5 separate regions of the Homo sapiens genome follow, and all the other regions are linked to region 1. Evidence: promoter capture Hi-C in 16 types of primary human blood cells and fetal thymus (Javierre and others, 2016). All regions are on one chromosome and are shown on one strand. The core of a region is centred on a gene start or on the middle of the fragment in contact, and the rest is flanking DNA. Distances in the headings are between cores, read along the strand shown. Region 1 holds the start of PRKAB1 (protein kinase AMP-activated non-catalytic subunit beta 1). Region 2 overlaps VSIG10 (V-set and immunoglobulin domain containing 10). Region 3 overlaps TAOK3 (TAO kinase 3). Region 4 overlaps SUDS3 (SIN3A corepressor complex component SDS3). Region 5 overlaps SUDS3 (SIN3A corepressor complex component SDS3).

Region 1 (5,529 bases), core at 1,731-4,230:
TTGTGCTTGGAGCTGGAGTGAATTTGAAGCCAGGGTTGCGGGGGTGGGGGAGGGGTACTCCTAGCTGTGGCTGTGTTAAAATTGCCCTGGTTTGTTTGGGGGAGAATCTAGGGTATTTATCATTTGTCTTTGCCCTGGTGCCAGACAGACAGCAGTGAGTAGATGATGCCTTTTACACAGCAATGTGCTAACAGTTATACTTCCTGGCACACCTCCAGCCCCCAAGATGGAATGGTCTGACATCCATATCAGCAGAGAATCAGAGAAAGATGAGACGCTCTGATGCTTAGGAAAGTCACAAACCATTGTTACACAGATAAGTAACACAAAATGACCCAAGAGAGACACAGCTGGGACCCAAGTAGACACTTGTAATTGGCGAGTCTACCCTACCCATGATTTTCAATATGGGGTCAATAGCTGATAGATACCAATGTTAGTTTCTTTGTCATGAAATCTTGATACAATGTGGTAAGAGTTTCCAATCAGCAGTTGGTGGCATCCTCAGGATATTGTTGATTGTATTTGACATCAAGGGCCACCCATGCTTTCACTGTTATCTTATTCAAGCTAGTGCAGATGTCTTAAAACTTTCTTCATGCATCAAAGCATCTGCATAGCTCAGATAAAGAATCCACAGCTCATGTGTTCTTTCTTATCTCTCCGGCTGTTTGGGAGAGATTTCAAAACTCAACACCCCACTGTCTCATGTAACCAAGTCAGGGCCACTATTAGAAAAGCAGCTCAAAGAAGATATCCTGGGTCATCCACAGTATCTTAGCTTATTTAATTCAGCAAGCACATTCAACATTTCTGATTATACTGAATACATTCAAATTCTCAGTCATCAGCTTCAGGAAGACCCTCCTGGCTCCCATCCCTTTTCCTGGCTCCCATCCCTTTTCCTGGCCTGGCTTAAGTCCCTTCTGGGCTCCCACAGGATCCCTTACCTAGCTATATTATTGCTTTTCTGTGGGTCGGTGCCAGCCTGTACTGTATTAATTCCTTTGGGGCTGGAACCATATCTTATTTTTTTAAATTAAAAAGTAGTACATCCTCACAATAGAAAACTTTTCAAATACAGAACTATATAAATGAAAAGTGAAAGTCCCTTTTCTGTCTGCTCCTATTTGCAATCTCCCTCCTCTCCCCACAGAAGACCACTATTAACAATGTGTTGTATACCCTTCCAGAACTTTCCATTTGCTAGCCTAATAGTGCTAATAAAAGTGTTAACAGTTATTGAGTGTTTACTAAGAGTCAAGTGCTATGCTCAGCATTTTTATGCACGTTCCCAATTAATTCACAAAACAAGCCTATGAAGTAGGTGTTATTTTTGTTCCCATTTCACAAAAGAAGAGACTAAGGTGACAGTTACTAAATGGTAAAGCCAGAATCTGAACATGGCCAGGCTGAATTCAGAGCTCCTGCCCTTGAACTTGTTCTCTCACTTGCTTCCGGACCTTGCAATATCATAGACACTTCCCCATAGTGACCTAAAAATGGTTTCTCCCTTTTTAAAAGTTGCTTGGTATTCTACAAAATGAATGTATTCCATTCATTTTGCCATTCTCCTACTGAACAACTTTTAGGATTTTGTAGTTTTTCATTTCCTTATTTCACCAAGTGTAAGATTCCATTATTGTAAAAAGCATCCAGTTTCAGAAATTAAAATATATGGGGGCATGGGGGGTGACAAGTGCATCTTAGAATATATTTTTGCATGTAAATATTTTGTAGATAATGCTTGTAAATAATTTTCATGTGTGTATTTCTGCACAAGTTTCCTAGGAGTAAAATTGTGTGTCAAAATGAAGGTGCATTTTTAAATTTTGATGCATACTGCTGAATTCCCCCCAGGAAACCTTATCTTAGTCATCTTGTGTTCCTCATTTCCTTAGCACAATGTCTGGTACTTTTTTAGGTACTAAATAAATGTTCAGTGGGTGAAATGCATGACCTGACCCGGCAAATGCAAAGTATTTTGAGATATTCACACACCAAAAAACCCACAAAATATGACAATGACTGACAATGAGAAGATGAGAATATTTTACTACCGTATTTGTATGCACTTCTTGTTGAAGCACTGACCAGAGTAAATGACAAACGCTAATGCATCTTATGCAGAAGGATGTTTCCGAAGTGATTACAAGATATCTTGCAAAATTACCTATCAAAAGATTGCACACTCAATAAAAATACACGAATAACTCCAGCATTTTACAACCCCCAACCTACTAGACATAAGAAATTTCCAGAGATCTTATGGTCTGCCATTTTTTCAAATACCTGCAAGACTGCCTGCACCCCCGACCCTAATCTGTAGAAATCATGATTCTGCAGGTCTGCAGTGGGGGATGCATTTAACAAGCGCTCCAGGTTAACCTAATGCACTGTAAAGCGTGAGAACACGTGCATTAAAAGGGCTTTAAGAAGTGGAGTTTCTGAATCAGATTTGCATTTTAGAAAGATCCCTCTGGCTGCAGAGTGTAGAATCAACTATAAGTGAGCAAAGATAGCTAAATGGCATTATTCAGCCCAGCGCATGAACGGCTCAGATTGCCCGCGCGCTGGGGTGCCCCCTGCCGGCCCTCGGCAGCGCCTCGTCCTGGGCCTGGCCCTGGGCGGCCGGCTGCTGACTGCGACTGCGCGCTCCGAGGCCTGCAGAGACGGCCCGGGGCACCTGTTACCGCACCGCTCAAGACCGGAAGCGGAAATGGAATCGAGATAGCCTCGCGCGTTTAGCTGGCCGCCGCCACCTCCACGCCCTAGGCCGGGCCGACTTACGGAGTCGCCGGAAGCGGAAGTCGCTGAGGGGTGGTGAAGCGGTTGGGAAAGTGTCGGTTTATCTTCGCGCCCCTTGCGTTCTTGCCGCGGCTTGCCTGGGCAGGTAAAGCGCGATTGCGAGAGCTCGGCAACCCTGCCGACTCAGCCGGAACCGGCTCCCGGCCCGAGGGGCGTGGTGTCCTGGTGCTCCGACTCCTTCCGCAGGCTCCTTGGGACCCGCGGTTCCGGGAGTCCCTTGCTCAGGGTCCCTTTCCTGCAGTGAGGCGCCGTCCGCCTTCCCTGTGTCCCCGCAGACCCCCATCATGGGCAATACCAGCAGTGAGCGCGCCGCGCTGGAGCGGCATGGTGGCCATAAGACGCCCCGGAGGGACAGCTCGGGGGGCACCAAGGACGGGGACAGGCCCAAGATCCTGATGGACAGCCCCGAAGACGCCGACCTCTTCCACTCCGAGGAAATCAAGGTGCGAGCGGTGTGGAGGAACCCGATTCCCCTTGACTAATGTTGAGGAGAGGAACCCTCCACTAGATTCCCGTCACATCCTTTCGAAAAACACCAGAACGGAGAGGGAGGTGGTACATTACCCGGTGCACTTAAAAGCCAGATGGTCCTGTAAGAGTTCTCTTAGCGGTCCAAGAACCTGTGTCTAATTACCAATATGAGAAAGTCACCCTGAGGGAGGAGGTGCTCACTTGGTTTAACATCATTAAGGAGAAAGCAGCTCTGGGACAGAGTTTCAAATTCTTAATTAATTCAGAGTCGAGCTAACAGTAATTGAGCCCCAGCTTCTGCTTTTCTCTTAGGTGTAATTAATTGCACTGCTTTGAGACAAATTCCCTCACCTTTACACAAACTGGAGCTTTTGTAAAAGTTAGTTTGGGAATTTATCCATTTTGGAGGCAAACCAGGTACATATACAAGCTGAAAGTAGAGCGGAACAGCTGACGGCAGTTGCCAGAGGTGTTTAGTTCTGCCCAACACTTTTGATTCACCCTACTTATTTTTTAAAAGACGGTGGTCTCACTAATTAGCCGGGCGTGGTGGCGGGCGCCTGTGGTCCCAGCTACTCGGGAGGCTGAGGCAGGAGAATGGCGTGAACCCGGGAGGCGCAGCTTGCAGTGAGCCGAGGTCGCGCCACTGCACTCCAGCCTGGGCGACAGAGCTAGACTTCGTCTCAAAAAAAAAATATAAATAAAAATAAAAAAGACGGTGGTCTCACAATGTTCTCCAGGCTGGTCTCGAACTCCCGGGTTCAAGCAATCTTTATGCCTTGGCCTCCCAAAGTGCTGGGATCGCAGGCGTGAGCTACGGTGCTGGCCGGTTCAGCCTACTTTTTTTTTTTTTTGAGACCGAGTCTCGCTCTGTCGCCCAGGCTGGAGTGCAGTGGCGCGATCTCGGCTCACTGCAAGCTCCGCCTCCTAGGTTCACGCCATTCTCCTGCCTCAGCCTCCCGAGTAGCTGGGACGACAGGCACCCGCCACCACGCCCGGCTAATTTTTTATATTTTTAGTAGAGACGGGGTTTCACCGTGTTAGCCAGGATGGTCTCCATCTCCTGACCTCAGGAGATCCGCCTGCCTCGGCCTCCCAAAGTGCTGGGATTACAGGCGTGAGCCACTGAACCCACCCTACTTATTTTTTTTTTTTCCTTCTTTGAGATGGAGTCTCACTCTGTTGCCCAGGCTGGAGGGCAGTAGCACAATCTCGGGGCACTGCAACCTTCGTCTCCCGGACTCAAACCATCCTGCCTCAGCCTCCCGAGTAGCTGGGACTACAGGCGTGTGCCACCATGCCTGGCTAATTTTGTGTATTTTTGGTAGAGGTGGGGTTTCGCCATGTTGCCCAGGTTGGTCTTGAACTCCTGACCTCAAGTGATCCGCCCGCCTGGGCCGCCCAAAGTGCTGCGATTACAGGCATGAGCCACCACTCCCGGCCTCACCCTGCTTTTTTTTAAAGCGTACATAGAAAAGTCTTTCAGCTTCTAGAGGTCAGTGGGCGGTGAGGGTCTGTCTGAAGGAGGCAGCCAGCAGCTACTGAACTTCTCTCTAGTGTTGTTTAAATATGACTTAATCGTGCTTAAGCAGGCCAGTGCAAACATTTTTCTTCCTGCTGCAGCCTGTTTAAATTCAAAAACTCAGGTGACTTAACTCCTGCTTCAACCACACTCCTGTTAACCACCTTCATATGGTGGATATTTCCAGCCGCAGGGCTCAGTCCAAGGACACTTAGTGATTCTGGCAGCTGGTATTTATGTGTTATGTCCAAAAGGAACTAATTGTTTCAAGGAACAAAGTAGGTTTAGGAAAGATAAAGCTGCCCTCTGCCCAACATACCCTGTTAGTATCCAATTTCATGTTAATCATCATCCATTTAATTGCTTGGCAGCTCATTCCATCTGTGTTTGTCCTCATGTTGAGCGAGGTGATCACATCTCACACCTTCTTTTGGATCTTAGTTTTGAGCCTGACTACAAAGAGGCTGCTTTTATGTGGCCCTACAACCTGTGGTTTGAACTTGCTCTCTGAATTTGTTGCATTCTTGAAGAGCTGTGTGCAAAGTGAACTTTAGAATCATGTTTCTCTAATGACTTGACGTCCTTTCCCCAGGAGGTAATTTTGGTCCCTGGTCCCAAGAAGGCTATTTAAGACACCAAAGGAATCAAAACTACTTTCTTCAGAAGTATTTGTTCTGTTACTATTCCAAAACTCCTCCAGGAAATGTTGAGCACACACATCATCTATG
Region 2 (5,529 bases), core at 1,121-3,620, 1.6 Mb before region 1:
GATTTGGGCATGGATCGTCTTAAAGAAGCCCGAATTCTTCAAAAAATCCTTAAAACTTGAAGACCTGGATTTTACCTGACCCAGGATATTACTGTGCACACAGGACTCAGATATGTGACAGCAGTCACAGCTCAGCTGGTCAAAGGTTTATAGTGTTTGACACCAGGACCATGAAGCTCCCATTTGGTAGTGGAAAAACCCTCAAATATTTCCTATCAACAGATGTGTGTGCTAGAGAAGAGGAAGTTGTGGAAAATATCCCAGTGATCCTACAAAACATTCTCTGTGTTCCTAGCTAGGGTTTTTTTTTTTTTTCACCTCAACAGTTTTTGTGTTTTCTTTTTTTAATCTTGTTGCCTCTGAGTAGTAGACTCTTCAATTCTGGAATTTGGTTGCCGAAGACTCTAAAGGAGAGACTCACTCAGTAATTCAGTGACTTTAGAAGCAAGCTGAGTATCTCATTCTAAAATGACACTGATTTACACTGTTGAGAATGGTTAAGTACGTGGGGTACCTTGCAGCAAAAGACAAAAAGCAAAAAGCCAGTAGACCTGCAATTCACAGCTATTCCTGAGGGGTGCACATTGCAGCCCACTCTTGAGCTCCCCAGTGTTCTGAGCAGGGGACAGGGCATACTTCTAGTGATTTGCTCAGTTTAATCCCTTCATCCAAGAAAACAGACCTTCCCCAACCACACCTGCAGGGTTACTTCAGACAACCAGCTTCTCATTTTAGAGTCCCAGTTCCTAGAATTGGAGAAAGGAAGTTCCCCTTTAAGCCCTAGGTCCTGCCCACTAGAGCAGATACGCAACATTAAAGAGTGCAAATTCAAGTCAGTTTTTCATATTTAGCAAACATCCATTGCACCCTTATAAGGTCCTCGACTTTAAGAAATTTATATGAAATCGGAAAACTTAAATCTTGAAACTATACAAGGATCTACTGGAAGCATCAGCAGGCTAAACTCATCACATGGTATTTTCATTCCAAATTTAGTGTTATTGATCAGTGTACCCTCAGAATATCCTTAAGAAGCAGGAAGGAAACAAGTTTTCCTCTTCCCACTTCCAAGACTGAGAAAGAGTCCAGATGAGCTGGTTTGCCCAAGCAATTCTTATCACCAGATACTCCGTTATTAAACGTGTCTCCTGCCTTCTTTGAAAGCAACAGGAGAAATGAAGCATAGGAAAGTCTGCAAGCTAACAGTGTATCACCTAGGAGGCTTGTATATAAATATGAAGCTCTGCAAAATGTAGTTATAATGAAAGGCACTTCCTATTACCAGCTCCCTAACTCTTTTTAAAAGAATTCTATCTCCAGGGAAATAAAACTGGTTAAGACAGTGCTCTGATATGCTTAGTTTAGTTCCTTCATCCAAGAAAACAGACCTTCCCCAACCACACCTGCAGGGTTACTTCAGACAACCAGCTTCTCATTTTAGAGTCCCAGTTCTTAGAAATGGAGAAAGGAAGTTCCCCTTTAAGCCCTAGGTCCTGCCCACTAGAGCAGATACGCAACTTTAAAGAGTACAAATTCAAGTCAGATTTTCATATTTAGCAGGTGATCTTACAAAGATATTTTTCAATAAATGGATTATGTTTTTCAATGAATGGATCTTACAAAGATGTTTTTCAATAAATGGAAGGAAAGATGTGTGTGCTTGGTTTTTTTGCTGAGACCCAAATGTTGCCAGTGCAATCCCCCACCAGGGGTACAGGTCAAATCAAAGCTGAATGAAGAGCTCATCTTCGATGTAGCTTTCCAAGCTTTCAGAACGAGACAATAATAAGTGAGCAGCTTCCTCATCTATTTTACAGGTGAGGAAATTGAGGCCAAGAGAGAGGTAAAGAGTCGTGCTCTAGCCCATGAAAGAAGGAAGCAACAGAGCCCAGATTCAACTTCAGGTGTTTCTAACTCCAAAGCCTGAACCAAACTGCCTTCCTCTGATTGGCATTGGTACCTGGAACTTCACCTGTTCCAAGGAGCTGATATTTGCAAGGTGCCGTGGCTGAGGCAGGAGAATCGCTTGAACCTGGGAGGCAGAAGTTGTGGTGAGCCAAGATCGTGCCATTGCACTCCAGCCTGGGCAATAGAGGGAGACTCCGTCTCAAAAAAAAAAAAAAAAAAAAAAAAAAGCGGCAAAAGGCACCAAGACCCAGTGCTTCCCTGACCTCTGTTCCCTCTAAATCAGCATCTATCACAGTAGATCAACCTGGATAAAGCCAGGATTCACAGCAGAAGTGGCACCTCAGACACCAAAGCAGCTTTCCTTCTCAAAGCTTTTAAACATCATTGGGAAAACTTAGAGCAAATCAAACCAATGTTTTTCAATACATGGAAGGAAAGATGTGTGTGCTTGGTTTTGTTTTTTGCTGAGACCCAAACATTGTTAGTGCAAGCCCCCGCCAGGGGTGCAGGTGGAGTCAAAGCTGAATGAAGAGCTCGTCTTCAATGTAGCTCTCCAAGCTTTCAGAGCAAGACAACCATGGACCATCCTCTTCTTCAGACTGGCCTGTCTTCTTCTTGAACAATGTCACTTTGCTCCTCACTGCTGTCATCTGTATGGGGGGAAATAAACCCAATGCTTTGTAATCAGAGTGTGATTCTATTTCCACCGTCAGTCATCAATCATCTCAGTGATTTCTAGTCCTTTCCTGGTGAGCCACAGAATGGGATCTCATGGAGAAGGTAGGGCAGCGTGTGTTTTCCCCTTTTCACCTGTTTTCTACATTCAGAACCTCTAGGCATGCTTGATACCAGTCACCCTTCATGTCCTCAGCTCACGCCCCTCCCCTCACCTGAAACGCCCTCTCTCCTTTCTGCTTATTCCAACTCAGCCGTCTTAACGCCTTGCTTCATGTCTACCTCTTCCATAAAGCTTCCCCTGACCAGCACACCTCTCCGGGCTCTTATCTTTCTCTGAGGTCCTATAAATTTTGGTGCAGTGGCACGATCTCATCTCACTGCAGCCTCAACTTCCCAGGCTCAGGTGATTCTCCCACCTCAGCCTCCCAAGTAGCTGGGGCTACAGGTACATGCCACACACCCAGCTAATTTTTTGTATTCTTAGTAGAGACACGTTTTGCCATGTTCCCAAGGCTAGTCTCGAACTCCTGAGCTCCAGCGATCCACCCACTTTGGCCTCCCAAAGTGCTGGGATTACAGGCATGAGCAACCGTGCCTATAATTTTTAAATGTGTTGTCCATCAGGCAATTAATCAAATATCTTCCTGCAACAGCTCCTCTACTGCTCTCTCAGTGTGTTGGTTCAATCTTGCTCCTGTTTCCATTTCCCCTGCAGGTTTTAGTTTGTTCCCCTAAACTGGCCTTTTTTTTTTTTTTTTTGAGACAGAGTCTCACTCTGTCACCCAGGCTGAAGTGCAGTGGCACGATCTCGGCTCACTGCAGCCTCCGTCTCCCGGGTTCAAGTGATTCTCCTGCCTTGGTCTCCCAAGTAGCTGGGATTACAGGCACCTACCACACCCAGCTGATTTTTGTATTTTTAGTAGAGATGGGGGTCTCACCATGTTGGCCAGGCTGGTCTCAAACTCCTGACCTCAAATGATCCACCTGCCTCAGCCTCCCAAAATGCTGGGATTATAGGCGTGAGCCACCGCACCTGGCCTGAACTGGTCTTGTAAAGCTCCCTGCATGCAGACACTACCAGTCTCTATTTTCTGTTCTCCCACAATGCCAATATTGTGCCTACCCTAGACCAGGACCTTGATAAGTGTTTGTCAATTTGATTTTCATGTTGGTAGTTGATAGTAGTCTCAGGTTCTAGACTAAAGTTTAGCTATCTTCCCCAGCCTTTTAAAAAAACTAAACTCACCCCTTAGAGATTTCCTGCTGGGAAGCTCACCGCAGCAGTTCAGAGGTTTGTGGGCTTTTTTTTTTTTTTTTTTTTTTCTGAGGCAGGTTTCCTACTGCTGCCCAGACTGGAGTGCAGTGGTGTGATCATAGCTCACTGCAGCCTGGACTTCCTACACTCAAGTGATCCTCAGCCTCCCAAGTAGCTGGGAACACAGGTGCACACCACCATGACCGGCTAATTTTTCTTTTTTTTTTTTTTTTTTTTCGTAGAGACAGAGTCTCACCATGTTGCCCAGGCTAGTCTTGAACTTCTGGGCTTAAGTGATCTTCCCACCTTGGCCTCCCAAAGTGCTGGGATTATAGGCGTGAGCCAACGCGCCTTTTTTTGTTTGTTTTCTGTTTGTTTGTTTAAGGAAAAAGAGCTTACCTTGAAGATCCTGGAATCCATTTCCCATCTGTTCTATGTTCCCATTCACCAAGGCGGTCACTCTGTGAATGTGGTCCTGCTTAGGTATTTCTTTTGGCAACTCCTCTCTCTCACGTGCTCCCTCCTGTTCCCCTACTGCAGCATCTTCCTCCTCCTCCTCCTCCTCCTCCTCTTCCTCTTCTGAATCCACCAAAACCATGACATCATCCATGTTTTGTCCCCTAATTTCCAAAGGGGAAAAATAATCAAGAAGATTTCTTATTTTTCCCAACTTCAGCCCTCACTGAATAGGAAACACTAGATTCTTTGCAACCCCATTAGTAATATGGAAAATTACAGCTTGGTGAAGTAATGAGGTGATGGTGTGGTAACCGCAGAGATGCTGCCACAAATTGCTTCAGATGATGGTATCTCATGCTGGTTTATTACTCCCCTGCTCCTTGGGCAGGTGACCATATTGTCCCAGGCATCTACCATTTCATGTCCCCTTACAGCAGGTAGACAAATGTTTTTCCTTTTCTGAAATGCCCTCATTCTGCTCTACTTACCAAAATCTCTCCCCTTCCTCATTTTGGAAGACCCAGGTAAAGTCCTCTCCCTCCTGCTAAAGACCTAAATTAATGACTGCATTTAGAGTCCATGCTATAGTTTATTTATCACCAGCTCACTAGCTTGCCTACCCAGCCAGACTTTGCATTTCAGACTATACATTTCTTTTTTTTTTCTTTTTCGGGATAGAGTCTTGCGCTGTTGCCCAGGCTAGAGTGCAGTGGCGCAATCTTGGCTCACTGCAACCTCCACCTCCTGGGTGCAAGCAATTCTCCTGCCTCAGCCACCCAAGTAGCTGGGACTACAGGCATGCGCCACCACATCTGGCTAATTTTTGTATTTTTAGTAGAGACATGGTTTCAACATGTTGGCCAGGCTGGTCTCGAATGCCTGGCCTCAAGTGATCCAACCACCTTGGCCTCCCAGAGTGCTGAGATTATAGGCATGAGCCACTGTTGTGCCCGGCCTGGACTGTGCATTTCTTCTTCTTCTTCTTCTTCTTTTTTTTTTTTTTTTTGAGACAGAGTTTCATTCTTGTTGCCCAGGCTGGAGTGCAATGGCACAATCATGGCTCACCGCAACCTCTGCCTCCCAGGTTCAAGCAATTCTCCTGCTTCAACCTCCCAAGCAGCTGGGATTACAGGCATGCGCCACTACATGCGGCTAATTTTTTGTATTTTTAGTAGAGATGGGGTTTCTGCATGTTGGTCAGGCTGGTCTCGAACTCCCGACCTCAGGTG
Region 3 (5,529 bases), core at 2,209-4,708, 1.3 Mb before region 1:
GCTGGCTATATCACTTTAATAGCAGCACTTTGGGAGGCCAAGGCAGGTGGATCATGAGGTCAGGTGTTCGACACCAGCCTGACCAACATGGTGAAACCCTGTCTCTACTAAAAATACAAGAATTAGCCAGGCATGGTGGCATGCACCTGTAATCCCAGCTACTCAGGAGGCTGAGGTAGGGAGAATCGCTTGAACCTGGGAGGCAGAGGTTGCAGTGAGCCAAGATTGCGCCACTGCACTCTAGCCTGGGCGACACAGCGAGACTCTGTCTCAAAAAAAAAAAAATCATATATATACACATATATATACACACATATATAGTTTCTCATAAAGAAAAGCAAACATATCAATCTGTAACCAATTACAAAACTGTCTTCATTTGTCTCACATTTTTCTGTAAATGAGGTGACAGACTGGACCCAAATAGGAAAAATACTCAGGTCCCTTCAACATTACTGTATTACCAGGGTTACTGATCTTATCTTATTTATTTTTTGAGACAGAGTCTCACTCTGTTGCCCAGGCTGAAGTGCTGTGGCACGATCTTGGCTCACTGCAACTTCCACCACTGGGATTCAAGCAATTCTCCTGCCTCAGCCTCCCAAGTAGCTGGGATTACAGGTGTGTGCCACCATGCCTGGCTAGTTTTGTATTTTTAGTAGAGACAAGGTTTCACTATGTTGGCCAGGCTGGTCTCGAACTCCTGACCTCAGGTGATCCATTTACCTTGACCTCCCAAAGTGTTGGGATTACAGGAGTGAGCCACTGTGCCCGGCCTGAGTTGACTTTAGATAAGCATGATGAAATACATTTACTATTTTTTCTTTCTCTTCAAAATCAGTTTCCTCCGCCTTATGCTAGGAACTGTGAAAGATTTAGCTAAAAGATATGGTGTTTGTATTCAAAATGTTTACATTAGTGAAGATACAAGAGTGTGTGATAGAAGACACTACACAGATTTTTGTTCATTGGTTTGCTAAATTAAAAATCACCCGAGAATTTGCAGGAAAATAGTAGGAGTAGGAAAAGCATCTAACAGGTAGTACACTTCACACAGGATCTTGAAGGAATGGTAAAATCTGCGTAGGCAGCGAGAAGCTCCAAGCAAGGGCTTTTTGGGTGAAGTAAAAGGCAGAGACTTGAATGAGTTTGGTGTGTTTGAGAGACCGACTTCAATAGAACAGAAAGAATAGGCCCAAGATCATAGGAAATGAAGCTGGATAAATAGTGTACAGGCAAATCAGAAAGGGTGTCGAAAGTCAAGCAGAAGAAGTTAGATTTAACATAGTGGAAAACAGGGAACCACTGAAGCTCTCTGAAAAGGGAGTGACATGCTAGAAGTAGCATTTAAAGAAGATTCATCATGATGAGTTGGGAAAAAGAGACTGAAATGAAGGCAGGCCCCTGTGGTAGTCCAGGAACGAGGCAACAAGGGTCTGAATGGGAAAGGTGCACGAGGTGCAGTGCATTTTACCAGCGATGTAATGAGCCTTGAGACTATTATGTTAGGAATTCTCAGAAACAAGGAAAAACATGGAATAAGCCAGGAGCTGGCTAGGAGACAAAGGGGTTACATTACAGATTAACACCCTGAAATTTTAAACACTAAAAGTATATTCACAACGGCTAAACATTTTTTTTTTCAAGTATCCTATAAGGAGTTTCCTTGTTTGGTTTAGTGAATTGACTGCGGGTGTCCCCTAAATTTCACATCTGTTTTGCTAACACATCCCTATGAAAATCTGCTTATGTAAGAATTAGTTTTAATATTTTCAATACGTCAACAAAGTTAACTGACCCAATACAAGATATGAACCCTAGAGTCTCAGATTGTGAGAACGGAAAACATTCTTTATGCAGTAGTTGTCCTTATGTGTGGGGAATATGTTCTAGAACATCCAGTGGATTTATGAAACCATAGATAGTATGGAACTCTATATATACTATTTCCTTTCCTATATATACATAACTACAATGAAGCTTAATTTATAAATTAGCCACAATACTCTTGCACTTTGGGGATGTTATTAAGTAAAATCAAGGTTAGTTGAACACAAGCACTGAGGTACCACAACAGTCAATCTGATAACCAAGACAACCAGCTACTAAGTGACGAATAGGCACGTAGCATCTACAGTGTGGATAGGCTGGATAAAGGGATAATTCATTTCCCTGGCTAGAAGGAGTAGGTCAGCAGGAGATTTCATCACACTACTCAAAAGGGTAAGCAATTTAAAACTCATGAATGGGGCCAGGCACAGTGGCTCATGCCTGTAATCCCAGCACTTTGGGAGGCCAAGGCCAGAGGATCACTTGAGGCCAGACCGGATTTGGCTATGTCCCCACCCAAATCTCATCTTGAATTGTAGCTCCCACAATTCCCAAGCATTGTGGGAGGAACTCGGTGGGAGGTGAGTGAATCATGGGGTGGGTCTTTCCCGTGCTGTTCTTGTGATACAGTCTCATGAGATCTGATGGTTTTATCAGGGGGAGTTTCTCTGCACAAGCTCTCTTTTTTGCCTGCTGCCATCCATGTAAGACATGACTTGCTCCTCCTTGCCTTCTGCCATGATTGTGAGGCCTCCCAAGCCATGTGGAACTGTGAGTCCATTAAACCTCTTTCCTGTATAAATTACCCAGCCTCAGATGTCTTTATTAGCAGCGTGAAAACAGACTAATACATCCTGTCTCTGCAATTTTTTTTTTTAATTAGCTATCTGGGAGGCCAAGGCAGGAGGGTCCCTTGAGTCTAGGAGTTTGAGGCTGAGGCTGTGGTGAGCTATGATCGCACCACTGCACTCCAGACTAGGTGGCAAAGTGAGACTCTGTCCCAAAATAAATAAATAAAATAAAACTCATGAATGGTTTATTTCTGCAATTTTCCACTTTAGTATTTTTAGACCACAGTTCACCATGAGTAATTAAAACCACAGAAAGCAAGACAGGATAAGAGGGGACTATTGTATTCAAATATACATGTAAATATCTATGTTCTATTGTCACCAAAACAAAAAAAATTTTTTTAGCTGATCTAAAATCTTAAGACACAGTCCTAACTTTATCTGAGTGGTGTACTCAGAAGAAAACAAACACACTCTGCTGAGAAAATAACATTTTAAGAAATCAACACTTCACCATGTTGTTTCCCGGGCTGTTCCATCAAATTGGGAGGAAATGATCTCAATTGAAACAAAATGAAAAATGTTACTAAAGTGAAATTTGTCAGATTATATAATCATTTTGATGAATAATTATTAAATCTACAGTCGATCCCTGTCTCCTTCTTCCTATCCCCTTGGAATGGGTAGTACACAATGTGGTAAGAGGAAGGGCATAAATAAGATCGGTGGATTTCATCCCTGTGTTCCCTGGTACTTTCTAAATACTTCTATTATTATAACGCTGATTTTATTATCTATACATAATGCCATGTGTTGTTGTATCTCTTTCCATGATCACTTTCTGGTGAAGCTATGAATGAGAACTGAAATATCCAAAAATGGCAAAAATAAGCATAACTATTCTTGCACACTGAGCTCTTCCTTTACAGTGTGTGGCCAAAATTATGCTTTTCATACATTATTTCATTTAATCCTCACAACAATCCTGTGAAGTAGGTATTATAATTATATCAATTTTACAGAAGAAGAAACTGAGGTTTCGGGGAGGTTAAGGGATTTGTGCAAAGTCACAAAGCTAGTAGGTGGCAGACATGTTTATCTGCCACACTCTTATTAAACATTAAACTATCCTGCCAATCCCAAACCTATGTGACAGAAACTGAAAGTAAGAAATACCAGAAACCTGGATATGCTGCTGATCATGTAAAAGAATTAGGGAAGGGCATCAATTCTAAGAATTGTGTGATACAAATGATAGCTTCCTTGACTCACTTCCAACCTTTCCTTGAACTGAAAACATGGCATTCCATTCCTGAAGGAGAATGGGACACTACTATGCACTGGGAATGTAACTGTCCCCTCCCCTCTTTTAGTAGGATAACTTGCATTACTATTTGATGGTATTGACAGGATCTCAATATCTTCTCAATTTGGTCACTTTCTTTTTTTTTTTTTTTTTTTTTTGAGATGGAGTCCGGCTCTGTCGCTCAGGTTGGAGTGCAGTGGCACAATCTCAGCTCACCGCAACCTCCGCCTCCCAGGTTCAAGTGATTCTCATGTCTCAGCCTTCCGAGTAACTGGGATTACAGACTTACACCACCACGCCCAGCTAATTTTTGTATTTTCAGTAGAGACGGGGCTTCACCATGTTGGCCAGGGTGGTCTCAAATTCCTGGCCTCAAGTGATATTCCAACTTCGGCCTCCCAAAGTGCTGGGATTACAGGCGTCAGCAACAATGCCCGGCCTCAATTTGGTCACATTAAAAAAAAATGATATGGCCACGTGCAGTGGCTCACACCTGTAATCCCAGAGTTTTGGGAGGCAGAGGCAGGAGGATCTCTTGAGGCCAGGATTTTGAGACCAACCTAGGCAACACAGCAAGACTCCCTCTTTACAAAAAAAAAGAAACTTTAAAAAATTAGCCAGGCATGGTGGCACATGCCTGTAGTCTCGGCTACTGGGGAGGCTGAGGCAGGAGGATCACTTGAGCTCAGGAGTTCAAGGCAGCAGTGAGCTATGACTGTGCCACTGCACACCAACCTGGGTGACAGGGTGAGACTCTGTCTCTAAATAAACAAGCAAGCTACTACTTAGATCAGCCAGTTTAAGACTAACTAGGTTGGTTGGTAACATAAAAATGATTTCTTAATAGAATATCCAGTGACCCGAGCAACTTGCATAACTCCTACCAGTGAAACTAACCTTTAAAAAATGTTCTCAGTACATGAAATGTATTCATAAGATACTTCTAAAAATAACTCCCCACTGTAATTCCCTCCTTATGCATCTGGGCAGAGATGTCATATTTCCTTCACAAAGCTTCCTTTTATGTTGCAACAGTAAGAATCTCAATTTCAAGCTAAACCAGAACAATCTAGAACTATAAACTTTTTCATAAGACATGATTATTTGTATTAGTATGCTATATTTTATATAAATTGTCCACATGTGATGGGACATCCTTACGTTTTTAACTCAGAACTATTTTTAACTGGAAAACAAAGCAGCTGTAGTTTTAAATTCTGTCATCCTTCCCCCATCTTTTTTCTGCTAACACGTGGCTTTCCACAAAAGGGTCAGTGTGATCTTTGCAGATCAGAGATAAGGAATATAGCCACAATAAACTAGAGAAGGTTAAGCACGTTTTAAGTAATTCAGGAGTTTAAAACTTGTCATCTATGTATAAAACAAGCAAACAGTTATAAGTGGTTAAATAAACATGTACAAATTAATAGGATGGAGTTTGTAACTTCTACTTTTCCCTTCAACGAGTGTCATTTTGGCAGGCAGCCATATAATCTGCAATAATCTGTCATCACGAAGCACCACCCACTTCCTCTGCTTCACCCCCATCCAAGCTATGACTGGGATATTTCTGGACTGCTAATATAACATTCAGACAATCAT
Region 4 (5,529 bases), core at 1,394-3,893, 1.3 Mb before region 1:
TTTTTGAGACCAGGTTTCGCTCTGTCACCCAGGCTGTAGTACAGTGGCACAATCTCAGCTTACTGCAACCTCTGCCGCTCAGGTTCAAGTGAGTCTCCTACCTGCCTCAGCCTCTCGAGTAGTTGGGATTACAGGCGCCTGCCACCATGCCTGGCTAATTTTTATATTTTTAGTAGAGATGGGGTTTCGCCATGTTGGCAGGCTGGCAGGGTCACATTTTAACTAGACTTGAGTACTTGTCATGTCCTTTCCCTTCGTGTATATCAACATTTCACTGATGAAAACATTTGCTTTGTAACATGCTTTCAGAAAGCAATTACTGCTTCTAAATGAATGCTAACATCACTGTCTAGAAAGGTGGCACAGCCTAGCAAATCTAATTGCACTTTTTATCTCTTGCAGAACTCTTCCTCCAGCTGGAAGTAAGTACCACGGATCTTCTGGGTTTGCAGGCCCTGTCTGAGACTGGAATCTTGCAGTCCTGATCTGGTGGCTTTTCCTTCTATCACCAAGTAGATAGTTTGGAAGCCTTCACCACTGTTCTGTTTGACTTAAGGACATTTGGTCTCAGCTCAGACATCCTGTCTGGTCATTTGTTGTTGCGCAGCCTCTGCTTATCACAGGGGAATAAGGAATACTCATCCCTAACTGCTTATTGACTTCTATCCCGTGTTAGAGCTGTTTGGAAGTCTCTGAGTTATAACGGCCTAATAGTTTGATATTGGTCCTTGAAGCAGTTCAATCTCTGAATTGGCTCAGCAGTTCTGTTTTACAGCTGCAACTCTCTGGGCCAGTAAAAAAAGACAGATTTCTAATTTTTCCTTTCATTCCATGGACACCTGAGTGCTGGTTCTGTGTCAGACTCTGTGCTGTGATACAGAGATGAGGGCCTGAATCTTGAATGATGTACTGCTCCCAGAGTGGCTAGCATGTGTGTGGGGGTTACTTTTTGAGAAAGTCATGGTTTTTCAGAGCCACATTATTGGAACCCAGTTTCCTTAAATCAGTGTGGTGCCCATAGTCACTCAGCCAGAAGGATCACGTGATCAGCCTGAAGGTACACTCAAGTGAGGTACTCACATCCTTAGCCCACCATAGGCCCCTATGTCAGTCACCACAATGGCGAGATTTGAAAAGCGGAGGCATATACAATTTTTGTCTTAGTATAATATCAATATATGTATACTTTGGGGTTCAGGCACTTACTAAATGTTGTTCCATTCTTTTGTCTTGCTGTATCAAAAATAATAGTAACTTTTTGAATATACACAATTTATCTAGAATCTATTTTCCTTTGAAGCTGTAACTTTATGAGCGATTATTTACTACCTTTGAGAAATGTGTTTTAGTATAAAATATAGGATGTGGAAGCGAAAAAATATCTGGGTAGCAAGTGAGGTGTACTCAAAAATAAGCAAAAGTCACGTGGGTCTGATTTTATACCCTCGCTGGAAAGCTTGTTCTCAGACACACTGTTACTGCAAGTGTGTGTGAGGGGGAAACTCTCACACACTTTGCAGTTGAGGACAGGGCTAGACTTTGAGTTGGAGCCCTGGCTCCCAGGGCTGTGTACTCCCAGCCCGTGTTTCTCTTTTGCTCAGACTGAACAAGTGGAACGAAATTACATTAAAGAAAAGAAGGCAGCAGTGAAAGAATTTGAAGACAAGAAGGTTGAGCTGAAAGAGAACCTGATTGCTGAGCTAGAAGAAAAGAAGAAAATGATTGAAAATGAAAAGCTGACAATGGAACTGACTGGAGGTAGGAAAGCCCTATGGGGTGGGATCTTGGGGGCCCTGAGCGGGGGGGTGTGAAGGGCTGTTCCAGTTACTTTTGTCTTACATTTCAAGAGCAGAGCAAGGTGGAGAGTGGGTTTTGACCTCATAGATCAGAGTTCCTCCTCCACCTTCTATTGGCTGTGTGACCTTAGTCAAGCTGCTTAACTTCTCTTTTCTCCTCTATGAAATGGGGCTGATCATACCCTCTCACAGGATTGTGGTTAGACATATGAGTGCCTAGTACAGTGTCCTGTGCATAACAGATGTTCAATAGTTGCTAGACCTTTAATAGTAATTGCAAGCTCTGGCTTAGACTCTACTTAATTCCTGGGTCTGCTGCCATTTGTATCTTGGTTATGTTCCCAAATTGCTTACGCAAGTCCCTCTGTGGTGATGGGAATCCCTCGCTTTGTTTTTTTCCAGTCTGCCTTAATTACAGAAAAGGTATTGTCTCCCTTTGACCTAGATGTAAGAACAAAGGCTTTTGGCTATATCCTCTATGCTATTAGATCTCTCCTGCCAGGTGTTACTGAACATTTCAGAAAGATTTGATATGATTCCAACAGGATAGCCAAACTGAACTAGTTTCCCATAAAGGTAGGAAAGTTACATGAGACTCAGAGCCAATGCCTTTCTAACCTTCTAGAATTTAGTAATCCACATATGGGAACTCAGCAGGTTGTAGGCAGGTTTCAGGGAGAAACAATATGGGCCAACTCTTCTGTTGCCATATGTAGACTGATGATTCCTAGAAGGATACAGGGAATTGGCTTGAACTAGCTATTTTGGAACTTGGCAAATACTGCAAGGCAAGTCAGTGGTGAGTTTGTCACTTGGATATGGAGGTGGCATGCCTTTCTGTACATCCCCAAATTTAACTCTTACAATTCGGAAAGTGCTGGGGCTCTGGTGTGTCTGATTTTAGCAGGGTTCTGTAGGAAATGCATGCAGTGTTTTTGTGGACGTTCTCAGGGCTGACTTTGAAATTAAAAGTAGCCAGTTAAGATCTTTGTTCCCCTCTATATATTCCTGGTGCTGTGAACCAGCTTGGCCTTCTGACTGACACAGACTTCTGGCTCCAATCCTCATGATACACTTAAGAGAATGTGGTTGTGCCTAAGGTGGGGTCTGACTTTTGAAAAATCTCTCTTCTGTTAGCTTCCTCATAGAGAGAGTTGGCAAAAGAAATGAGCTCCTTGAAGGCCTCTGAAAGCAGCTCAGAAATGTTTTTTTGTGAGAATGGATGCCAAAACAGCAGCTAACAGCAGCTTCAGGCAGTATAGTCTTGTTCTTGTGAAAGTGCTTATTTAATGAGACCAGTAGCACCGTGGTACCTTATCTGGTACCAGTCTGCCTGCCGGCTTTTGGACCTGCACACCATTTTCTCTGACAGTGGCTGTGACTGGCATTGATGCCTCATTGTTCTCTGCTAGAGCCACCAGATGTTTGGGAGCCTTCATTAGGCTAGTGGGAAATATTATCCGTTTACAGCTGCTCCCTTTCCGTCTGTGGGGAACGGGTATCATCACCTTACCTGTGATTTGGCGTCCTAATTATTGACAAGCGATAGACATTGTTTGGCCAGGCAGTTTTACAGCCAGAATCTTAACTGGGACAGGAGGCATCCTCAGTGACTTGAGGCTGAGCCTGCCAGGGTAGAAAAGACAAATAAATGTAGGGAAATCATTTGTAACGCAATAAAATAGATTACAGAAGTGTTTAAAGCTAGCCATGGGCATTAAAGGTATGGATGTCCTTCCTCAGGGCACCTTTGATACCCTTGGTATGGAAAGCACTGCCAAGGTAATGATGGAGTGTTGGAAGACAAGGTGCTGGAGCTAGAAGGGTAATTAACATTTCCACAGATGGCGCTGCTATGGTGTTGGATTAAAGGCTTGATTTCATTCCTCTAATTGAGTGACTTAGTTCATCTTTGTGGATTGATGCCCAATATCATTGTTGCCCAGCTCTGCCCTGAAAAATACTTTTTAAAGTCTCCTTTTTTGGTTCAACATGAACGTCTCTTGAAAAGCAAAGTAGGATAAGACGCTGATGAGAAGCTTAGTCTAAATAACCCACTGGAAACGGGTGTATTTGGCGACCTGCTCTTTCCCACCATGACTTAAAGCGTTTATAAACCTCCATAGGAATTGGCAGGATGTACTGTTCACCGCCCAAACCTCTTGTGGAAAACTGGGTTGTTCAGGTAGAAATGAGTAACTGTACATAGAGAAGCTAGGAAGAATTATAGGTCAGTGCATCCCAACTTCAATGTGTTAGGTCAGTGGGGTCTTGATAAAATGCAGATTCTGTTTCAGGGGCTTTGGAGTGGAGGCTGAGATCCTGCATTTCTTTCTTTCTTTTTTTTTTTTAAATTTAATTTTTTTTTGAGACCAAGTCTTGCTCTGTCGCCCAGGCTGGAATGCAGTGGCGCAGTCTCGGCTCACTGCAACCTCCACCTCCCATGTTCAAGTGATTCTCCTGCCTCAGCCTCCCAAGTAGGTGGGATTACAGGCATGCACCACCACGCCCGGCTAATTTTTGTATTTTTAGTAGAGACAGGGTTTCATCATGTTTGCCAGGCTGGTCTTGAACTCCTGACCTCAGGTGATCCGCCTGCCTCAGCCTCCCAAAGTGCTGGGATTGTAGGTGTGAGCCACCGTGCCCCGGCTGAGATCCTGCATTTCTAACCACCTTCCCCAGGGGTCGCTGATCCTGCTGGTTGATAGCTGATACCACAAGTCATTACAATGTCAAAATAGAAGTCTGTTTCCCAAGCACTTACACTGAGCCAAGCATTACATAAATATATTAGAGCTAACTTTGCAGGCTGATGGTCCAGGGCTGAATCCTGGCACTGTCACAGATTTAAATCTGAGGTAGGGTTTTCTCATTTGGCAAGGGGATGATAGAACCTACTGCAGAGGGTAGATGTGACGTGAGATGAGATAATGCCTATAAGTTGCTTCACAAAGTAGCTGGTTTACAGAGTGAACACTCAGGGATTGGGAACTCACTGAGTTCCCGCAGCTCCCTTTGACCTTGGGGGTATCGCTTCTGATTTTATAAATGGCAGAGGTGGCTCAGAGAAGTGGAGCCATTTGCTCACAGTCCCTCAGTGAGATAGATAGTGGTTCAGCCAGTGTCTGTCTCACTCCAAGCATATTCTCTTCACCACCACTACTACTGACTCTCTGCAGATACCATAGATACATGTGGTGGCACTAAGTGACTCACAAAATCAGGCTAATGGATAAAGTCTGTGTCTTCTAGGAGGCTATTTTCTGGTAGTTAGAAAGCTGACACAGCTTCCTTGACTTCCCCAAGGTAATGTGTTGAGATGGAGGGCCCCTAAATAAAGGTAACAATTTGACAGGCTTGTTTTTGACTCATTGATTTATTTAAAGACAGGGTCTCACTCCAGTTGCCAAGGGTGGAGTGCAATGGTGCCATCGGGGCTCACTGCAGCTCGACTTCCCAGGCTCAGGTGATTCTCCCACCTCAGCCTCCTGAGTAGCTGGGACTACAGGCATGTGCCACCTTACCTGGCTCATTTTTGTACTTTTTGTAGAGATAGGGTTTTGCCATGTTGCGTAGCTGGTCTTGAATTCCAAGGCTCAAGCAATCTGCCTGCCTTGGTCTCCCAAAGTGCTGGGATTACAGGAGTGAGCTACTACATCTGGCTTTTTTACTCATTTTAAAACCCTAAGATATATGTGGTTGTACTACTATAGGAGCAGTAAGTTTCACGCGT
Region 5 (5,529 bases), core at 2,007-4,506, 1.3 Mb before region 1:
TGGGTTCAAGCAATTCTTGTGCTTCAGCCTCCCGAGTACCTGGGATTACAAGCGCACACCACCATGCTGGCTAATTTTTGTAATTTTAGTAGAGATGGGGGTTTCACCATGTTGGTCGGGCTGGTCTTGAACTCCTGACCTCAAGTGATCCACCCACCTCGGCCTCCCGCAGTGCTGGGATTACAGGCGTGAGCCACTGCACCCAGCTGTAACATGTGTATGTTTTATCATAAACACAGGAACATAGTTGACATAGTTTTTTTTGGTTTTTTTTTTTTTACCTACCAGTATATGGAGCATGTTTCCACACTCGTAATATTCTACACCACATCCATGACCTTTCTTTATTAAAGTGTTTAGAAAGTTGTATCAGAATGACTTGAGGGTAGTTGCATTTTGTTTTGTGTCTTTATCTCTTTAATAACTTACAGTCCCTTTAGAACAACTGTGAGTATTCTCCCTCTGTATTTTTATTTTAACCATTACTCAAGACATGACTGTTTACATAGGAGAGCTGGCTCAGATGTGAGAGAGAAACAAGGGGAAGTGTTAGTGTTAGTATGAACTTAGCCTTTTCTTATGCATTGTACAGTTCGGCCCTTGTGATAATACATATTTAGCATAATGAAGGTCCCCTGCCAGTTTACCAACTAATAAAGGGCCAAAAGCAACTTTAAAACTTGCATTTAAACCATTCTCGCTGTTCTAATTGAATTTAAAATTCTTTTTTTTTTTTTTTTAAGATAGAGTCTCGCTCTGTTGCTCAGGCTGGAGTGCAGTGGCATGATCTTGGCTTGCTGCAAGCTCCGCCTCCGGGGTCAAGCAATTCTCCTGCCTCAGCCTCCCGAGTAGCTGGGATTACAGGAGCCTGCCACCACTCCCGGCTAATTTTTGTGTTTTTAGTAGAGATGGGGTTTCACCATGTTGGCCAGGCTGGTCTCGATCTCCTGACCTTGTGATCTGCCCACCTTGGCCTCCCAAAGTGCTGGGATTACAGGCGTGAGCCACCACGCCCGGCCTAAAATTCTGTTTCTTTTAACAGTATTTTCAGAAAGTACATTGACTTGGAAACCTGAGTTTTCAGTTCATAAGTAGCAGGTTAAAGAGAATTGAGACCCTAGACTGGAAAAAGCTCATTATGGGAGTGAAGTGCATCCTTTACTTGCCATGTCTTGGCAATAGGTTATTTCCTTATACCAGCAAAACAGAATAAGCCATCATGCTTTGCTGGGAGATGTGTTTTACTAAATTTACACGAGTTTATGGGTCTGGTTAGCCAGATCTTTGCAGCCAAAATGAACCAAAGTTTATGTTATTAATCGACGTGGGGCTGGCCCAGGCCAGGGTTGCTAGCTGCAGCTCCGCTGATACTTCCAACTCTTGTAATCCAGCAGGGGCTCCTTCATCCTGTGGCAGCTGCTTTTGTCCCATTTGGGCTTTGGCCCCCAGCAACTTCACTTTCATCCTTGGCCTTGTCTCTGAACTTGTAGAAATAAGAAGTGGCCCTACACTACAGGTTGAGAGTAGATGCAGGAGTTGAAAGGGGAGTGTCTGTCTTATCTACTGTATTCAAAGCAGCTTTCCCAACTGTCCAGGCCAAATTAGATACCCTTTGGTATACGTCATGGCACTTGGAACTTTGCCTGATTAGCTGTTACCAGGTGTGGTTATTTAATGTTCCTTATCCCCAGTGTATTTGAATCTCTGTGATAGTGGAGAACTTGTGGCCTTTCTCACTGTTTGTCCCCAGCCTCCAGCATAGTCCGTGGTACACAGTAAGTGCTTAATGAGTATTTTTGAATGACTGACTAAAGGGTTAAAGTCAGCCTTCCTTCTTGTTGGTGACTGACTTGGACAAATAGAAAATAAATAACGGTGGCTTATGCCTGTATATTTTGTCTGTCCAACCTTCTTCAGTGTTCTGGTGTGGGGTCAGAAAGGGGAAACAGAGTTTTTATTTAACAATTTTTAATTTACTTTTTGAACTGGGTCATATAGTCCAAAAAAAGGGAAAAATACATAGTTTTCCAACACTTTCCTCAGCCTTTTCCCTTCTGTAGAGGGACCAAGGAATATAAGCTTTAGATCCCAAAGAAGATTAGGTGGTCTTCTAACCTAAGGATGGAAGCCTTTATTTATTTATTTATTTATTTATTTTATTTATTTATTTATTTATTTATTTATTTTTTGAGATGGAGTCTTGCTCTGTCGCCCAGGCTGGAGTGCAGTGGCGCCATCTCGGCTCACTGCAAGCTCCGCCTCCCGGGTTCACACCATTCTCCTGCCTCAGCCTCCCAAGTAGCTGGGACTATAGGCACCTGCCACCATGCCCGGCTACTTTTTTTGTATTTTTAGTAGAGACGGGGTTTTACCGTGTTAGCCAGGATGGTCTTGATCTCCTGACCTTGTGATCCGCCTGCCTCGGCCTCCCAAAGTGCTGGGATTACAGGCTTGAGCCACCGCGCCTGGCCTCAGGATGGAAGCCTTTAAATTAAGCTAAATGGGAAATCCAGGCTATTCCTCAAATGTGAATTATTAAGACTTCTTTAATTATAATTTTTGTTGTGATGGTGTTTTTGTTTTGTTTGGTTTTTACTTCCTGTCTCTGTCCCTCCCTTTTTAAAAATGTGTGCCTTGTTTTTGTCAGGTACCACAAGAGCCAGGCCATCTATCTGGAGTCAAAGGACAACCAGAAACTGAGCTGCGTGATCAGTTCTGTAGGAGCCAATGAGGTGGGAACCACACTCCCTCACCTTTAGGGAAGCAAAATGTGTACTGCGAAGTGTTGGTAGGGCAAACCTGAAATGAAAGTGCCACCAAGGAAGTACAGTGGAGTACTGTCTTCTATGTGGGTTAGATTCTAAAGTCAGGCAGAAATTGCACATTGTCAAAATCATCCTTGAAAAGTCCTTACATTCGCTTGACTACAACATATGCGGATTTGTCTATTCCATGGGGTATTTGTGAACTCCCGGTACAGCTACTGATTTGGGAACCACGGAGCTAGATTCCAGGAAAGAACAAAAAGCAAGTCTGTGTGGTGTCTGTACATTCAACTCCTGCTTCTTTTTTTTTATTTTTATTTTTTTTGAGACAGAGTCTCACTCTGTTGCCCAGGCTGGAGTACAGTTGTGCTATCTTGGCTCACTGCAACTTCCACCTCCCAGGTTCAAGTGATTCTCCTGCCTCAGCCTCCTGAGTAGCTGGGATTACAGGCACCCACCACCACGCCCGGCTAATTTTTGTATTTTTTTTTAAGTAGAGATGGGGTTTCACCACGTTGGTCAGGCTGGTCTTGAACTCCTGACCCCGTGGTCTACCCAGCTCGGCCTCCCAAAGTGCTGGGATTACAGGCGTGAGCCACCACACCTGGCCAACTCCTGCTTCTTTTTAAGGTAACCATCTACTGAGAATGGAGCTTGACTGTGGAGCATACTCCATCTTGGTTTTGTTTCTCTAGAACTTTCACACATACCAGTAGATTTGTTTCTTGCTGTGAGGATTGAATGAGGCACCTGGCACAGGGTCTAGCACCCAGTAAGTGCTCACTAAGTGAGTGCTGGCCTGAAACGACCCACACGCCACTTGCCTGCCGTCTTTCCTAGCTGAGATGTCCTATTGTGCTTCAAAACAAGTTGCCAGGGTTATGCCCTTGGTTTTTGGTCTCCTCGAGACACTCCTTTAGGATGGATGGGGTCTGGTTTTAAAGTCAGCTCAGAGGGTTATACCTGAGGATGATATGACTGCCCTCTGAGTTCTCCAAGTGGTCTTTCATGAGGAGTATATAAGCAATGTGTAACTTATGTTGTTAGTTAAAGTTAAAAACTTTAATAGCTGGATTGGCTTGATCTTTTATCAGTCCACAAATGTCTGCAAAGAAATTGATTTCTATGTGTCTGCCCTCTGTAACTTATTCGTGCCAGTGCACAGTAAATGTAATGAAACTGGATTATGAAGTAACTTAAGCCTCTTCTATTCTTCCAGCTTCCTGAATTGAAAATGCCCTGAAATGTGACTAGTTTGCAAAATGATTGTTTACTTAGAAGTTAGGGAGAGCCTTCTAGATAAATGAATGCCATTCTTCTCTGGGCTGAGGATCCGTGTGAGTCCCCTCAAGCCAAGTCAGAACCAGAACAGGGAAGCTAATAGAGAGACCTGGTCCTCAGCCAAGAGGTGTCACGATTTCATGGTAATCATTTGCACCTGGCTGTCTGGGTTGTTCCACAAGCACATGTGGCCTTCTAGTACCTGACCCTAACTTCAGAACCAGTGCATTATTCTCCTCTATGATACCTCAAGATTTTTCAGAAAAATATAAATGCAAGTTAGATTGTTTTTCCCCTCTCTCTGCCGAATATTGTCGCGTCTTGACATAATAGAGTGTCAGTGAGATCTGACAAATGGTGACACTGAAACACGTCTTCTGGAGGGGAGAAGCTTCAGTGCACTGAAGACATGCAACTCTGGCAATGGGGAAACCGTTCTCATTTCTTGAAAGTGTTCCAGCTCATTTTTCAGATCAAATTCTAGGTGACACTGGAGCTACTTGGCTTTAGCATAGCTTGACTCCAAGCAGGTTTGGTGGGTAGCTCTGAGTGTGTGGATGACTCCCTGACTTAGCTTTTCTTGGGATCAGTTTTTCATTTAAAATGATTCTGCAAGGTCCCTTGGAGGCTTAGCTTCATGTGAGGTCTTTAACTTTTTAAATTTTTAAGCCAGTGTATTTGACTTTAAAGCAGTAGAGATACTGCTGAATAATCACATTAAAGAAATTGAGATGAAACAGAATAAGCTTTTTTAAAACCTGAAAACTGAGTCCAGGAAGGAGGAGATAAATCTGTAAACTTGTATATTTGGGTGAGATGCAGACCTTTCAAAAAACTGTGCTTTTGGCTCTATTTAATTGCATGTTACAGAAAAACAGGCAAGAAGAAGCCAGAGACTGCTTTAGTAGAGAAGAGCCAGGGGCTTTGATGTCAGACACCAGAATTCACGTCGTGATAAGTGACTCAGCCTTGCTGAGCTTTGGTTTCCTCTTCTTTAAAATGGGGCCAATGATAGTAGTTATTTCATAGGGTTGTCTTGCGGGTGAAAAAGCTCAGCCTGATCAGCATGGTGTCTGGCACACAGAGCTCAGTAACCCTGGCTCAGGGGGTCAGGTGACTGGCAGCAGCTCCCCTTCTCACCCATGGCTTTAGGATGCCCCTTATTGAGTGCACTTTGTCAGCCCTGGCAGTCCCCTGTTGCAAGAGTTCATTCTCAATTCAATGGAAGAATGCATCTGCCCTGTAAAATGCACTGTAATCTAATACTGTCTGTGAGAGGGGGATATGGTGAGGAGGGAAGGACTCTCGGAAGTGCTTCAACCTTCTCATGATCCTAATTGGGCCTTAGCTCATTAGTGGGCATTTTTCTATTGTTGATATTTTTTCCCTGTTTTTCTGCACAACCATTAGCCTTCATTGCCAGGAAACCAAAGTATTGAAAGTTTGTATAATATGGAAGTCCCTTGGAGCAAGGAAAATACTT

The links. The method cuts DNA at HindIII sites, captures the fragments that hold promoters and counts their contacts. A CHiCAGO score of 5 or more calls a contact.
Region 2: a fragment that was not itself captured here is called in contact with the fragment with the promoter of PRKAB1 in region 1 in 1 of 17 cell types (total CD8 T cells); the score reaches 6.4 in total CD8 T cells.
Region 3: a fragment that was not itself captured here is called in contact with the fragment with the promoter of PRKAB1 in region 1 in 2 of 17 cell types (naive CD8 T cells and total CD8 T cells); the score reaches 6.3 in naive CD8 T cells.
Region 4: a fragment that was not itself captured here is called in contact with the fragment with the promoter of PRKAB1 in region 1 in 2 of 17 cell types (total CD8 T cells and naive CD8 T cells); the score reaches 6.1 in total CD8 T cells.
Region 5: a fragment that was not itself captured here is called in contact with the fragment with the promoter of PRKAB1 in region 1 in 1 of 17 cell types (naive CD8 T cells); the score reaches 6.8 in naive CD8 T cells.

Annotation. Positions count from the first base shown.
Region 1 is chr12:119,665,153-119,670,681 of GRCh38, forward strand. It overlaps PRKAB1 (protein kinase AMP-activated non-catalytic subunit beta 1), which reads left to right and starts at 2,981. Exons shown (of 7, transcript NM_006253.5): 1 at 2,981-3,251. The coding sequence starts at 3,093. PRKAB1-AS1 (PRKAB1, TMEM233 and CCDC60 antisense RNA 1) reads right to left here and starts at 2,975. Exons shown (of 3, transcript NR_188494.1): 1 at 2,791-2,975. RefSeq lists enhancers at 549-693, 2,828-3,237, 3,676-4,311, a cis regulatory region at 613-630 and a silencer at 2,458-2,727. The HindIII fragment of the contact is 11,826 bases long and covers 1-5,529 here.
Region 2 is chr12:118,064,137-118,069,665 of GRCh38, forward strand. It overlaps VSIG10 (V-set and immunoglobulin domain containing 10), which reads right to left. Exons shown (of 9, transcript NM_019086.6): 8 at 4,241-4,461; 9 at 1-2,558. The coding sequence ends at 2,503. The region is part of intron 1 of LOC124903030 (a long non-coding RNA gene); the gene reads left to right. Among named protein-coding and RNA genes, the nearest start is that of WSB2, 5.7 kb to the left of the region's middle. The HindIII fragment of the contact is 187 bases long and covers 2,278-2,464 here.
Region 3 is chr12:118,352,233-118,357,761 of GRCh38, forward strand. The region is part of intron 1 of TAOK3 (TAO kinase 3); the gene reads right to left. Among named protein-coding and RNA genes, the nearest start is that of TAOK3, 18 kb to the right of the region's middle. The HindIII fragment of the contact is 2,961 bases long and covers 1,979-4,939 here.
Region 4 is chr12:118,389,525-118,395,053 of GRCh38, forward strand. It overlaps SUDS3 (SIN3A corepressor complex component SDS3), which reads left to right. Exons shown (of 12, transcript NM_022491.3): 5 at 403-422; 6 at 1,602-1,758. Among named protein-coding and RNA genes, the nearest start is that of SUDS3, 16 kb to the left of the region's middle. The HindIII fragment of the contact is 2,379 bases long and covers 1,455-3,833 here.
Region 5 is chr12:118,408,426-118,413,954 of GRCh38, forward strand. It overlaps SUDS3 (SIN3A corepressor complex component SDS3), which reads left to right. Exons shown (of 12, transcript NM_022491.3): 11 at 2,648-2,732. Among named protein-coding and RNA genes, the nearest start is that of SUDS3, 35 kb to the left of the region's middle. The HindIII fragment of the contact is 2,358 bases long and covers 2,078-4,435 here.